Linked DNA regions of Homo sapiens: regions 1, 2 and 4 are each linked to region 3. Evidence: promoter capture Hi-C in 16 types of primary human blood cells and fetal thymus (Javierre and others, 2016). All regions are on one chromosome and are shown on one strand. The core of a region is centred on a gene start or on the middle of the fragment in contact, and the rest is flanking DNA. Distances in the headings are between cores, read along the strand shown. Region 1 has its middle 84 kb from the start of LINC02379. Region 2 has its middle 240 kb from the start of LINC02516. Region 3 holds the start of FAT4 (FAT atypical cadherin 4). Region 4 has its middle 230 kb from the start of LINC02516.

Region 1 (2,794 bases), core at 229-2,728, 660 kb before region 3:
CCTCTGTCAAAAGTCAATATACCTTGTCAATCTGGGTCTGTTTCTGAATTCTTTATTTTTTCTATTGATCTATTTAGCTTATTATCATGCCAACACAGTGATATTTACCTTAGGTGTGTAGTTTATGGAAAGCCTTGAAGTGAGTTTTTTGTTGTTGTCGCTATTTGCCCAGTCTCACTCTTTGCCCAGGCTGGAGTACAGTGTCTCTATCTAGGCTCACAGCAACCTCTGCCTCCTGGGTTCAAGGGATTTTCCTGTCCCAGCCTCCCGAGTAGCTGTGATTACAGGTGTGTGCAGCCACGCCTGGCTAATTTCCATATTTTTAGTGGAGACAGTGTTTCACCATGTTGGCGAGGCTGGTCTCGAACTCCTGCACTCAAGTGATCCACCCGCCTCAGCCTCCCAAAGTGCTGAGATTAAAGGCATGAGCCACTGTGCCTGGCTGGAAGTGAGATATTTTAAGTCCTCCAAATTGTTTTAATTTTCAAGATTGTTTGACTATTGTAGATCTTGTACATTTCCATACATATGTTAGAATGAATTGCAGAAAAACTTGTGATTTTCCATAAAAATTCTACTAACAAAATTGAAAATTTTAACAAAATTGAGTTTTCTAACATGGGAATACATTTATTTATCCATTTATTAAAGTATTCATTACCTTTTTTTGGTAATCTCTTATAGTTTTCAGTGTACAGGAAGGTGTTTCAAATTATTTGCTAGATGAATTTTTGCCATTTATTTTTGGATGCTATTGGTAATTGGATTTTTAAATTCCATTTTTCAATATTTTTACTGTCATATTTAAGTGTAATTGAATGTTATATAAGATGACAAATCTTGCAAACTTGCTGATTTTTAAAATTATTATTAAAAATATTTAGAGCAGTTTCAGATAAACAGCAAAATTAAGAGGAAGGTACAGAGATTTCCCCTGTATTTCCTCCCCACACACATGCACATGCGTAGCCTTTCTCATTATCAGCATCTCCCAAGGGGATGGGGTGAAATGTGTCACCAGAGTCGTACATTTTTACCATTGGTTAACCTACACGACACATCATTATCACTGAAAGTCCGTGGTTCACATGAGCATTCACTCCTGGTGTTTGTTGGACGTTCTGTGGGTTTGGACAATGTATAATGACTTATCCATCATTATTGCATCATACAAAGTATTTTCACACCCCACAGACTCTTCGTACTTTGCCTATTCATCCTCCACCTTCCAACCCTTAGCCTGACAGTTTTAATGTCTCTATTGATTTTTTTTCCCAGAATTTCATATATTTGGGATCATACAGTGTATCGCCTATTTAGATTGGCTTCTTTCACTTAGTATTAGAAATGTAAGTTGCCTCTGTGGTTTCCATAACTTGATAGGTCATTTATTTTTAGCACTGAATAATATTCCATTATCTGAATGCTTCATAGTTTATCTGTTCACCTACTGAAGGACATCTTGTTGCTTTTAATTTGGGTAATTACAAATAAAACTGCTTTAAACATCTATGTTTAGGTTTGTTGTGTGGACATAAGTTTTCATTTTATTTCATTAAAAACCAAGGAGTGCATTTGATGGATCTTATGGTAACGGCATGTTTAATTTTGTAAAAAGCTGCCAATCTGTCTTCCAAAGTGGCTGTACCATTTTGCGTTCTCCTCAGTAGTGCATGAGATCCTGATGCTCCATATCATCACCAATGTTGCTGTGGTCCGTGTTCCAGATTTTGGCTGCTCGAGGCCTCACTTCAAGGCTTTCCATAAACTACACACCTAAGGTAAACATCACTATGTTGGCATGATAATAAGTTAAATAGATCAATAGAAAAAATAAATAATATAGTGCAGTGGTATCTCCTTGTTATTTTAATTTGCATTTCCCTGATTTCACATAATGTAGCGCATCTTCAATGTTGAAAACTTGAATCATTAATTCTATAGCTGTAGATATTTTAGAATTTTCTATGTAAAAAACCATGTGTCTGTAAATAGTCATTTTACATATTTCTTCCTAACTTTTACGTTTTTAATTTTAATTTTATTTTCTCTAGTTTTTATTTATTTTTCATATTTCTTGATTTATTTTATTTTATTTTTTTTGGGCTAGGACTTCCAAACAATGTTAAATAGAAATGGGAAGAGCAGGTGATCATGATTTTCCCCCAAATTAAAGAGAAAACTATTAATATTATACCAATATGATTGATGTTCCCCATAGATTTTCACACCCATCTTTCTGATTGTGGACAGTGTATGCCATATTCATAGTTACTGAGTGTTTTATTATGGAACGGGTGTTGAATTACATCTATTGAAGTGATTATATGTGAATTTTCTCTTTATTTTGTTAATACGGTGAAACACCATTGATACATTTTTAAATGTTGACAGTCTTGTATTAGTGGGATAAGCCTCATTTTGGCAAGATAATTATGTTCCATTTTACATATTGCTGCATTTGATTCACTAACATTTTGTAAATGATTTCTGTGAATATGTTCATTAGGGCTATTGCTGTAATTGTTTTCTTTAATTTCTGTATCAGATTTAATATTAGAATTTTACTCACTTTATAAGTACATGCTACAATGTGTTATTATTTACATGCTTAATAAAATTCACAAGTAGATCATATAGGCCTAAAGTTTCTTTGTGGAAAAATATCTTCTCATATTTTTGTTATTTTTCATGGTTGTTACATGAGTTGCCTCTTTTTTCTGGTTTCTTAAGTTGAAATCTTCAATCTTCAATAATTTATTTTAAACATTTTGTTTGTTTGTTTTTGTGACAG
Region 2 (2,811 bases), core at 156-2,655, 1.0 Mb after region 3:
ATTTTTAGTAGAGATGGGATTTAGCCATGTTGGCCAGGCTGGTCTCAAACTCCTGAATTCAAGTGGTCTGCCCACCTTGGCCTCCCAAAGTGCTGGAATTACAGGCATAAGCCACCACACTTGGCCTAAAAGGTGACTTTTTTATGTTAATTTTGTATCCTGCAATTTTATTGAATTCACTTATTACTTCTAACATTCTTGGTGTATTATTTAAGGTTTTCTTTACATAACATCATGTCGTCTGCAAACAGAGATCAATTTACTTCTTCTATTCCAATTTGGAAGAGTTTTATGTCTTTTTCCTGACTATTTGCTCTAGCTAGGACTTGCAATACTGTGTTGAAAAAAAGTGGTAAGAGTGGGCATTCTGGGGCTGGGCATTGTGATTCATACCTTTAATCCCAGCATTCAGGGAGGCAAAGGCAGGAGGATAGCTTGAATCCAAATGCTTAAGATCAGGCTGGGCAACATAGTGAAAGCCCATTCTCCACAAAAAGAAGATTAAAAAAAGAGTGGGCATCCTGGTGGTGTTCCTGATCTTAGAGGAAAGATTTTTTTCTTTTCACCATTGACTGTAATGTTACCTGTGGGCTTGTTATATATGGCATTTATTATGTTGAGGTACACACCATCTATACCTAATTTGTTGAAAGTTTTTATCATGAAACAGTGTTGAATTTTTTCAAATGTTTTTTCTGTGTCTCCTGAAATGATCAAATAATTTTTTTTGGTTGTTTTGAGATGGAGTTTCATTCTGTCTCCCAGGCTGCAGTGCAGTGGCACGATCTCAGCTTACTACAACCTCTGCTCCCGGGTTCAAGTGATTCTCGTGCCTCAGCCTCCCAAGTAGCTGGGATTACAAGCCCGCACCACCTCACCCAGCTAATGTTGTATTTTTAGTAGAGATGGAGTTTGACCATGTTGGCCACGCTGTTCTCGAACTCTTAACTTCAAGTGATCAGCCCACCTCAGCCTCCCAAAGTGCTGGAATTACAGGTATAAGCCAGCATGCCTGATCCTGATCAAATGATTTTTATATTTCATTCTATTAATATGGTGTATTGAATTTAGTGGGTTTTGTATGTTGAGCCATTCACACATTCCAGGGATAAATCCCACTTGATCATCATGTATGATCCTTTTAACATGCTGTTTGATTCCATTTGTTAATACATTAGTAATGATTTTGCACCTATGAGATATTCATCAGAGATATTGGCTGTAATTTTCTTTTTTTAATAGTGTCCTTCTCTGGCTTTGGGGTCAGGAAAATATTGGCCTCATAAAATGAATTTGGAAATATTCCTTCCTCTACAATTTTTTTAGAAGGATTTAAGAAGCATTAGCATTAACTCTTCTTTAATGTTTGGTAGGATTCAGTAATGATGCCATCTGGTCCTGGGCTTTTATTTGTTGCGAGATTTTTGATTACTGATTCAAACTCCATAGTCTTTTAGTCTTTTCAAACTAGTCTTTGCAAATTTTCTGTTTCTTTAGTCTTTTAGTCCTTTCAGATTTTCTATTTCTCTATGATTTAACCTTGGCCTTTCTATGTTTCTAGGCATTTATTTACTTATTGTAGGTTATCCCTTTTGTTGGCTTATAATTGTTCACAGTTGTCTTTTATGATCCTTTGCATTATGTGGTATCAGTTGTAATATTTCCTCTTTCATTTATAATTTTATTTATTTGAGTCTTCTTTTTTGCTTGGTTAGTCTAAGTAAATGTTTGTAAATTTTATTTTTCTTTTTAAAAACTGAACTTTTAGTTTTCTTGATCTTTTCTATTTTTTTCATGTCTATTTCATTTACTTTTCCTCTAATCTTTATTCTTTCTTTCTTTCTGCTCACTTTGGGGCTTCATTTGTTCTTCTTTCTTTAGATTCTTAAGGTATACGCTTAGGTTGTTTACTTGAAGCCTTTCTTTTTCCTAAAATAGGCATTTATTGCTATAAACTTTCCTTTTAAAACTGCTTTTGCTGCATCTCAGTAATTTTGGTATGTTGTTTTCTAGTTTCCTTTGTCTCAACGTATTTTTAAATTTTTTAAAATTTTTTCTTTGACCCACTAATTGTTCATTAGTGAGTTGTTTGATTTCCACATATGTGTAAATTTTCTGAATTTTCTCTTTTTATTGATTCCTAGTTTTATACTATTGTGGTCAGAAAAGATAAATGATACGATTTCAATCTCCTTGTATATGTTAAGAATTGTTTTGTGGTCCAACATATTATCTGTCCTGGAAGGTATGCCAAGTCTGCTGTGGAAGAATGTCTATTATTCTACTGTTAGATAGAATTTTCGGTATATGTCTTTTAGGTCCATTAAGTGTATAGTATTAATCAAATTTGCTGTTTTCTTATTGATTTTCTGTCTGGCTTACCTATTCATTGTTGAAAGTGGAGTGTTGAAGTCCCCCGCTGTTATTGTATTTTTTTCTCCCTTCAGTTCTGTTAATATTTAAAAAAAAAAAAAAAACATTTAGGTGCTAAAATGTTAGATGCATCTATATTTATAATTGTTATATCCTTTGGTAATTTGACCCCATTATCTTTATATGAGGACCTTCTTTGTCTTTTTTTACAGTTTTTTGCTTAAAGTCTATTTTGCCTGATATTAGTATAGCCAATCCTGGTCTGTTTTGGTTATCATTTGCGTAAAACATCTTTTTGTATTCCTTTACTTTCAGCATATGTGCATTCTTCAAGTTAAAATGAGTTTTTTAATAAGCAACACACAGTTGAATTTTGGTCTTTTATCCATTCAGCCACTCTATCTTTCGATTGGATAATCTAATCCATTTACATTTAAA
Region 3 (3,037 bases), core at 322-2,821:
GGCCTGCCCCGGAAGCAATGACAGTAGCCAAAACACTCGAAGGAGCTGAGATACTGATAGAGTGTGCAACGGGAGCCACGGGCGGCCAGTAGCCCTGTCTGGTGCTAAGTCCATGGTCCTGGCTCCCTAAAACGATGTGATAAAGAGAAGGAAGGGGTGAAGCAAACGCAATGATATTTACAGGGATTAAGGAGCGCCAGCAAAGATTCAGCTGACGGCTTGGTCTGAGACCTCTGCTATTTCAAAGAACCTCCAGTCCGGCAAAAGCAAGTAGCATCAGCAAAAGACTCTAGGTAGCCAGTTGAACGCGGAGTGCAAGAGAGATGCTGTGGCGAAAAGCGGCAGGGCATTCCGCGGGACACTCCTGTGAGCTGAGTTCCCAGAAAAGTTTCTCAAGCCTCTTATATATGCCCCCTTTTACTTTGTTTTTGAATCCAGATAGTCTGAGCGTTTTCACCCGGGTGGATGAGAGTTGGGAGAAGTTGCCTGTATCTAAGGTATATGAGGAATCATTGCAAAGAACGGTCTTCAGAAACTTTAGAACTTACCCGCAGCGAAGAACGTGAAGAGGGAGGAACAAACGTCCAAGCACAACTGCGCACCGGGGAAGGGGTGGTGGGGAACCGGGAGAATCGAATTTCTTTCCCAAAAGCTGGAGGCGATGGAATTCCTGGAGTCCCCACTCCTCAAAAACCAGGCTGCAACGCCCCTCCAACAGGGCGCCGGCAGTGGCCGCTGAGGCCCAGGCGGCGGCGTCTGCGCGCAGGCAGTTCGGGAACTGCGTTCCAAGCGCTAGCGTTCGCGCTCTGGCTCCCGTACCCGGGAGCGCTCAACTCTGCCCCTTCCCCTCCTGCAGCCGCCGCCGCCGCCGCCCCTGTTGCGGCTTCAAGCCCGTGGTCCGGCACAAACAACAGCCAGGGCTCCTCGGCATTTTTCACCTCTGCCGGGGCGCCTGCCGACCCATTATTTGTACATCCAAATCGAACGCAGTTTCCCCTTTCTTCTCGGCCTCGCAGGGGTCGGGCAGAAACAGCGTGCGGTCCCCGAGTCGCCCTCCCCTCACCATGCCAGGGGGGGTCGTTCTCCGGCGGCCCCAGTCAGAAGCCCACTCTAGCGCGCCTCGCCCCTGCCCTCGCTATCTCTGCTTTTATTGTCCCGTGTCAGTTTCACTTTGTAATCCACAAGGCTTTTTGTTTGGGGCGGGGGGTGGTTGATGCCTCTCTCTCCTTCACAGTTGGCAGCGGAGGCGGCGAAGTCGGCGCTGGGCTGTAGTGACGCCCTCCGCAGCTCCGGACGGCGCCTGTCAGCGCTCTCCCTCTCGCCGGCCGGGGCCGAAGGTTGGACTGCGGTGGAGCTAGGGCTCCGCGAGCCCTTCTCCACCTCCCGCCTGGTCCCTCACACTCTCCCCGCCCCTTCCCCGCCGCACAGGCATGCACACACACACACATACACACGCACACACACACACACAGCGCGTCGCCGAAACACAAACAGAGGGGGAGGGAAGACCGCGAGCTGGAGCAGCACTCAGAAACTTTGCTCGACACTCATTGATCCCCGCACTTTAGTTCGCCTGGACTCCCCCTAGCTCCCAGTCCTGTCACCTTCTGCCCCTCCCTCGCCCCAGCCCCATTGGGCCGGAGCTGAAGCAGCCCCGACCGGCACTCCTACCGCGAGCGCCCTCCGCCTTGCCCGGCCTCCGACTGGCTTCTCGGGATGCTAATCACTTCAGCCTCCCGGAGGGCTGTAGGCGGTCTGGTGTGGGAGCACAGCGAGGCGGAGGCGCTAAAAAGGGGGGTGATTTTTTTTCTTTTCTTTTTTTTTTTTTTTTTTCCTTTTCGGCCAAATCTTGGCCGGCGTCAGAGCAATAACAGCAAAAGGCTGCCGCAGAATAGATGGGGGTGGGGTCAGGTTTGCAGATAAATAACTTTAGTGGCAGGGTCTGGGGGAAGACCGTTAGGTTGTTATGCTAGTAATAACTCAGGGGTAAGGGGGTCGAGAGAAATAAAAGAAAGGCGGGGGGTGAGGGTCTGTTAAAGCGGGGAGGAAGGATTAAGCAAAGCCTGTCTGGGAATGCACAGTGCAGATTTGCTTTAACCATTTCCTGCCCCTTCTCTCTTTATGCAAGGGATAGAGCTGCCATACAGTGTGATCCCACAGAATCCAAATCAAATCCTCCCCTTTGCTCCTCTTTCTACACAGTGGGCTCCCTGCTGTCTAGGGCGAGCTAAACTCTAAATCTTCACTCACTTGCCCCTCTCCCCCACCTTCCAGGTGACTAGGGGGCAGGAGGCCTCCGTAGCAAGGGCACTTTGGACTTCCTACTATAGGAAAGGCCAGGGGAACTCAGTGTTTGTTTTGTTTTCTTTCCCAACTGGATTCCAGGTGCCAGTAGCCCAAACCTTAGGGTTTCAACAACAATAATAATGGCAGCCCTTTGAAAAGAGGGAGATCTTTTCCTGTTGCAAAGTTAGTTTGGAATTTTGATCCCTGATGGAGTATTTCCACCTCCACATTTTTTAGTCAAAGGAAACCTAATAAAGTTTTATTTTGCTTTTCAGTCTGGGAGAAATAGATACGAGAAAGTAGAAATAAATAAAATAATATTTAAGCTTAAGTTTTTAAAAATACCCACATGCCACTTAATGCACTCAGATCAACTCACCCACTATTCACTGCAGTTAATTTTTGTGGTGGCATGCATCGTTTCTTTAAAAGAAGAAAAACGTTACTAGGAATCAGATCGATATTTTTCCCCTTTAAGGGAACCAACCTAGAAAATAAGAATTCAAGCCAAACAATGCAAATACAGGGCATATGTCATACATTTCTGCCACAAGGATCCCTCACAAACGTAAAACTTTCTGCGCCCAGAGAGGGTTCAGTCATGAGTAAATACTGCCCTCTGCTGTTCTACGTCAGTCTTACATCTTTAGTCTCCTGGTTTCTTGCTTAAAATTAAATGCAGAGACTAAAAGGATCGGATTACAAGGCTAATTCCTGCTTCTTGCCTAGGGATAGCAGCAAAGAAAACGAT
Region 4 (2,700 bases), core at 181-2,680, 980 kb after region 3:
GCCAAAGAGCTAGCTTTCTTTGCCATAGTATTATTAAATTATTGATTGTTCTTTTTCAGAAAGTCAGTTTAAATTACTGTTAGTTTCCAGAAATGGGCTGATTGTACTTGCATTCTTTTATAAACTTGTACAGAAGGAAAAATGATTACCCCATTCTCGAATTTCCCCATTTCCTAATCGTAACCAAAGGATCGTCCTATATATCAAGCTAATGTCTCTCCCTAACAGTTAACAACACTGTGACTCAACAGCTAGAAAATACTTACCCCAGGACTACTTGAGGAGACTATCAAAAATCTTAGAAACCATGGGCTCCACCTAGTGGCATTTTCCCAGTTGATATTATGGTTTTAAATCTAGCATTTAGCTTTCTGCACAAACCATTGTTTTTATTTAAATTCATTTAATAAAATTATAAAATAACACTATTCTACTTAAGTATTATTATTCAGTAGATTTGTGGTTTTAGTCATTTTTCTTTTTATGCAACCTTACTACTATAGTGCTTAGTATCATGCTTTTGATTTGTTTGATTATTCTAAATGGAAATAAATGGGGATTATGTTTTAATAATAAGGAAGTAGAGAGATGTATTAATATATGATAGCATTTTCTAAAAAGGGAATCCATTAGCAAGTCTATATAATTTCTAGTATTATGTCTGAAGTAACTTATAAAGGAAACGAATCTAATGATTGTATCATATAAATTATACAAAGCAGTGATCTCATGATCGTAGTTTTAAGTTCTCTGCAGCTTTTTATTTGGAAACTATTCCTCTTTGAGACATTAAATTTCTTTACCAGAATACCATATTTTTACTTGAAGAGTTGTAATTACGCAAGACTAACATTTAAGCTGAAAAGTCATTCGTTAAATGCCAATTAAGATTTCTGAAGTCATACATTTTGCTTACCAGACAAATCAGAAGATACTCAGAGATTTAGATTGAGCAGCCTATCGAAAAAGCACATTCCATTTCCACTAGCTCAGACCATTAGGAAAATGTGGGTTACCTGACAAGTCAGGAAGGGCTTTTAAATACTCTACAAAACTTCTGAGAAGCATATCTTGAGCCAGGAACCGTGCACTCATCCTCAGTTCCTTTCATCTGTACTTTAAATTGCTTTACTTCCCTCCCTGATATTCCCTCAGGTCATTTGCCAACCCACATACATGTACCTGGGAGTGTTCATGGACACACACACACAGTTTTCCTAGTGCCTCTGATTATAGCTGAAATACATTCAGCCTTTTACCTCATACTAAGCAGAGGGATTGATGGAAGAAAATTCCAGGGCAACCAAGGGTGGAGGCTAGGGATTGGTAAAGACAACGTTCCTGATGGATGCATTTTTTTTTTTTTTTGAGATGGAGTCTTGCTCTGTTGCCCAGGCTGGAGTGCAGTGGTGCTATCTCGGCTCACTGCAACCTCTGCCTCCCGGGTTTCAAGTGATTCTCCTGCCTCAGCCTCCCAAGTAGCTGGGAATACAGGCGCACGCCACCATGCACAGCTAATTGTTGTATTTTTAGTAGAGATGGGGTTTCACCATGTTGGCCAGGATAGTCTCCATCTCTTGATCTCGGCCTTGATCCGCCCACCTTGGCCTCCCAAAGTGCTGGGATTACAGGTGTCAGCCACCCCGCCCGGCCCAATGGGTGCATTCTTTACCGCTTTTCAAAACTGGATTGAGCCTCACAGTCTGCTAAGGTTTTCTGGGGCTAGCAGCCATCCAGCCCTTGCTGCATGGCTCTGGGTGAGTAGAGGATGCAGGCAAATCTACCCTCCCAGGGCCCTGGTGATTGCTGCTGCTCTGAGTTATGTAACTCCTGCTCACAGGCCCAACCAAGCAGAGTGATGATGCTACAATCACATCAGAGATTGTAAATGATGGGGTGATGATGAACAGGGGTTGCATTTTTTTTTTCTGTGTGCCCTGTATAGTTGTAGTCGCTGGCATGTCAGGTGATCAGTAAAGACTGAAATAGAAAAAGAAAAGAAAAGGAACAATTCTTGTCCCCTAGTCCCTGCTCTACTACTGAGTTACTATGTAACATTGTGCCATTTGCGGTTTGAATTAAAACATAAAATTAACGTGTGTAAGTATTTTCCCCCAAAACTAGGATGTGCATGTAAAAAACAATACCCATAAATGTTAATCATTAATAGCTTAGAAGGTGCTTTTCTGAGAGTTGATTCAGGAGCATGCTGACTGCCTTTATGGATTTGAGGGCCTCCCCCACACTTTTTAGGAAGACCTCCAAGGTTTCACCCTGTGGCCAACCATGAAACTTTTGAATACATTCAAGACCTAGAAAGAGGAGGACAGTGCACGCTTTCTTCCCTTCCTCACTTGTTTGTTCAGGCTGATAACTAGGAAATCAAATGTAAACAATTCATGTATGAACTAAAACCAGTGCTCACAGTATTGAACATTTATTTGAGGAAGATGTTAAGAGTCATATATAAAATCTAATCATATGCATATGTTTTGTGGGACACACAGGAGCCATGTGGTTCTTATGGTTAGTAGGGATTTCACATGAGAGTCTAGAAGCTGAAGGCTTTGAATATGGTTGCCATAGAGACAAACAGGCAGTTTATAGAATCCCAAACCAGGAGGATTAATTTTAATAACTTCCATCAAGAAGCAATATAGCTTTATAGTTGATAGCACAGGCTCTGGTGCCAGGCTGCTG

What was found. Contacts are between HindIII fragments. The CHiCAGO score rates a contact against its expected background, and 5 or more counts as called.
Region 1: a contact is called between a fragment that was not itself captured here and the fragment with the promoter of FAT4 in region 3, in 1 of 17 cell types (megakaryocytes). The highest score is 6.3, in megakaryocytes.
Region 2: a contact is called between a fragment that was not itself captured here and the fragment with the promoter of FAT4 in region 3, in 2 of 17 cell types (M2 macrophages and M0 macrophages). The highest score is 8.6, in M2 macrophages.
Region 4: a contact is called between a fragment that was not itself captured here and the fragment with the promoter of FAT4 in region 3, in 5 of 17 cell types (M2 macrophages, M1 macrophages, M0 macrophages and 2 more). The highest score is 17.4, in M2 macrophages.

The regions. Positions count from the first base shown.
Region 1 is chr4:125,978,431-125,981,224 of GRCh38, reverse strand. No RefSeq gene overlaps it. Among named protein-coding and RNA genes, the nearest start is that of LINC02379, 84 kb to the left of the region's middle. The HindIII fragment of the contact is 3,481 bases long and covers 1-2,794 here.
Region 2 is chr4:124,314,982-124,317,792 of GRCh38, reverse strand. No RefSeq gene overlaps it. Among named protein-coding and RNA genes, the nearest start is that of LINC02516, 240 kb to the left of the region's middle. The HindIII fragment of the contact is 5,621 bases long and covers 1-2,811 here.
Region 3 is chr4:125,313,489-125,316,525 of GRCh38, reverse strand. It overlaps FAT4 (FAT atypical cadherin 4), which reads right to left and starts at 1,571. Exons shown (of 18, transcript NM_001291303.3): 1 at 549-1,571; 2 at 1-126. The coding sequence starts at 114. The HindIII fragment of the contact is 5,556 bases long and covers 1-2,614 here.
Region 4 is chr4:124,331,850-124,334,549 of GRCh38, reverse strand. No RefSeq gene overlaps it. Among named protein-coding and RNA genes, the nearest start is that of LINC02516, 230 kb to the left of the region's middle. The HindIII fragment of the contact is 3,584 bases long and covers 1-2,700 here.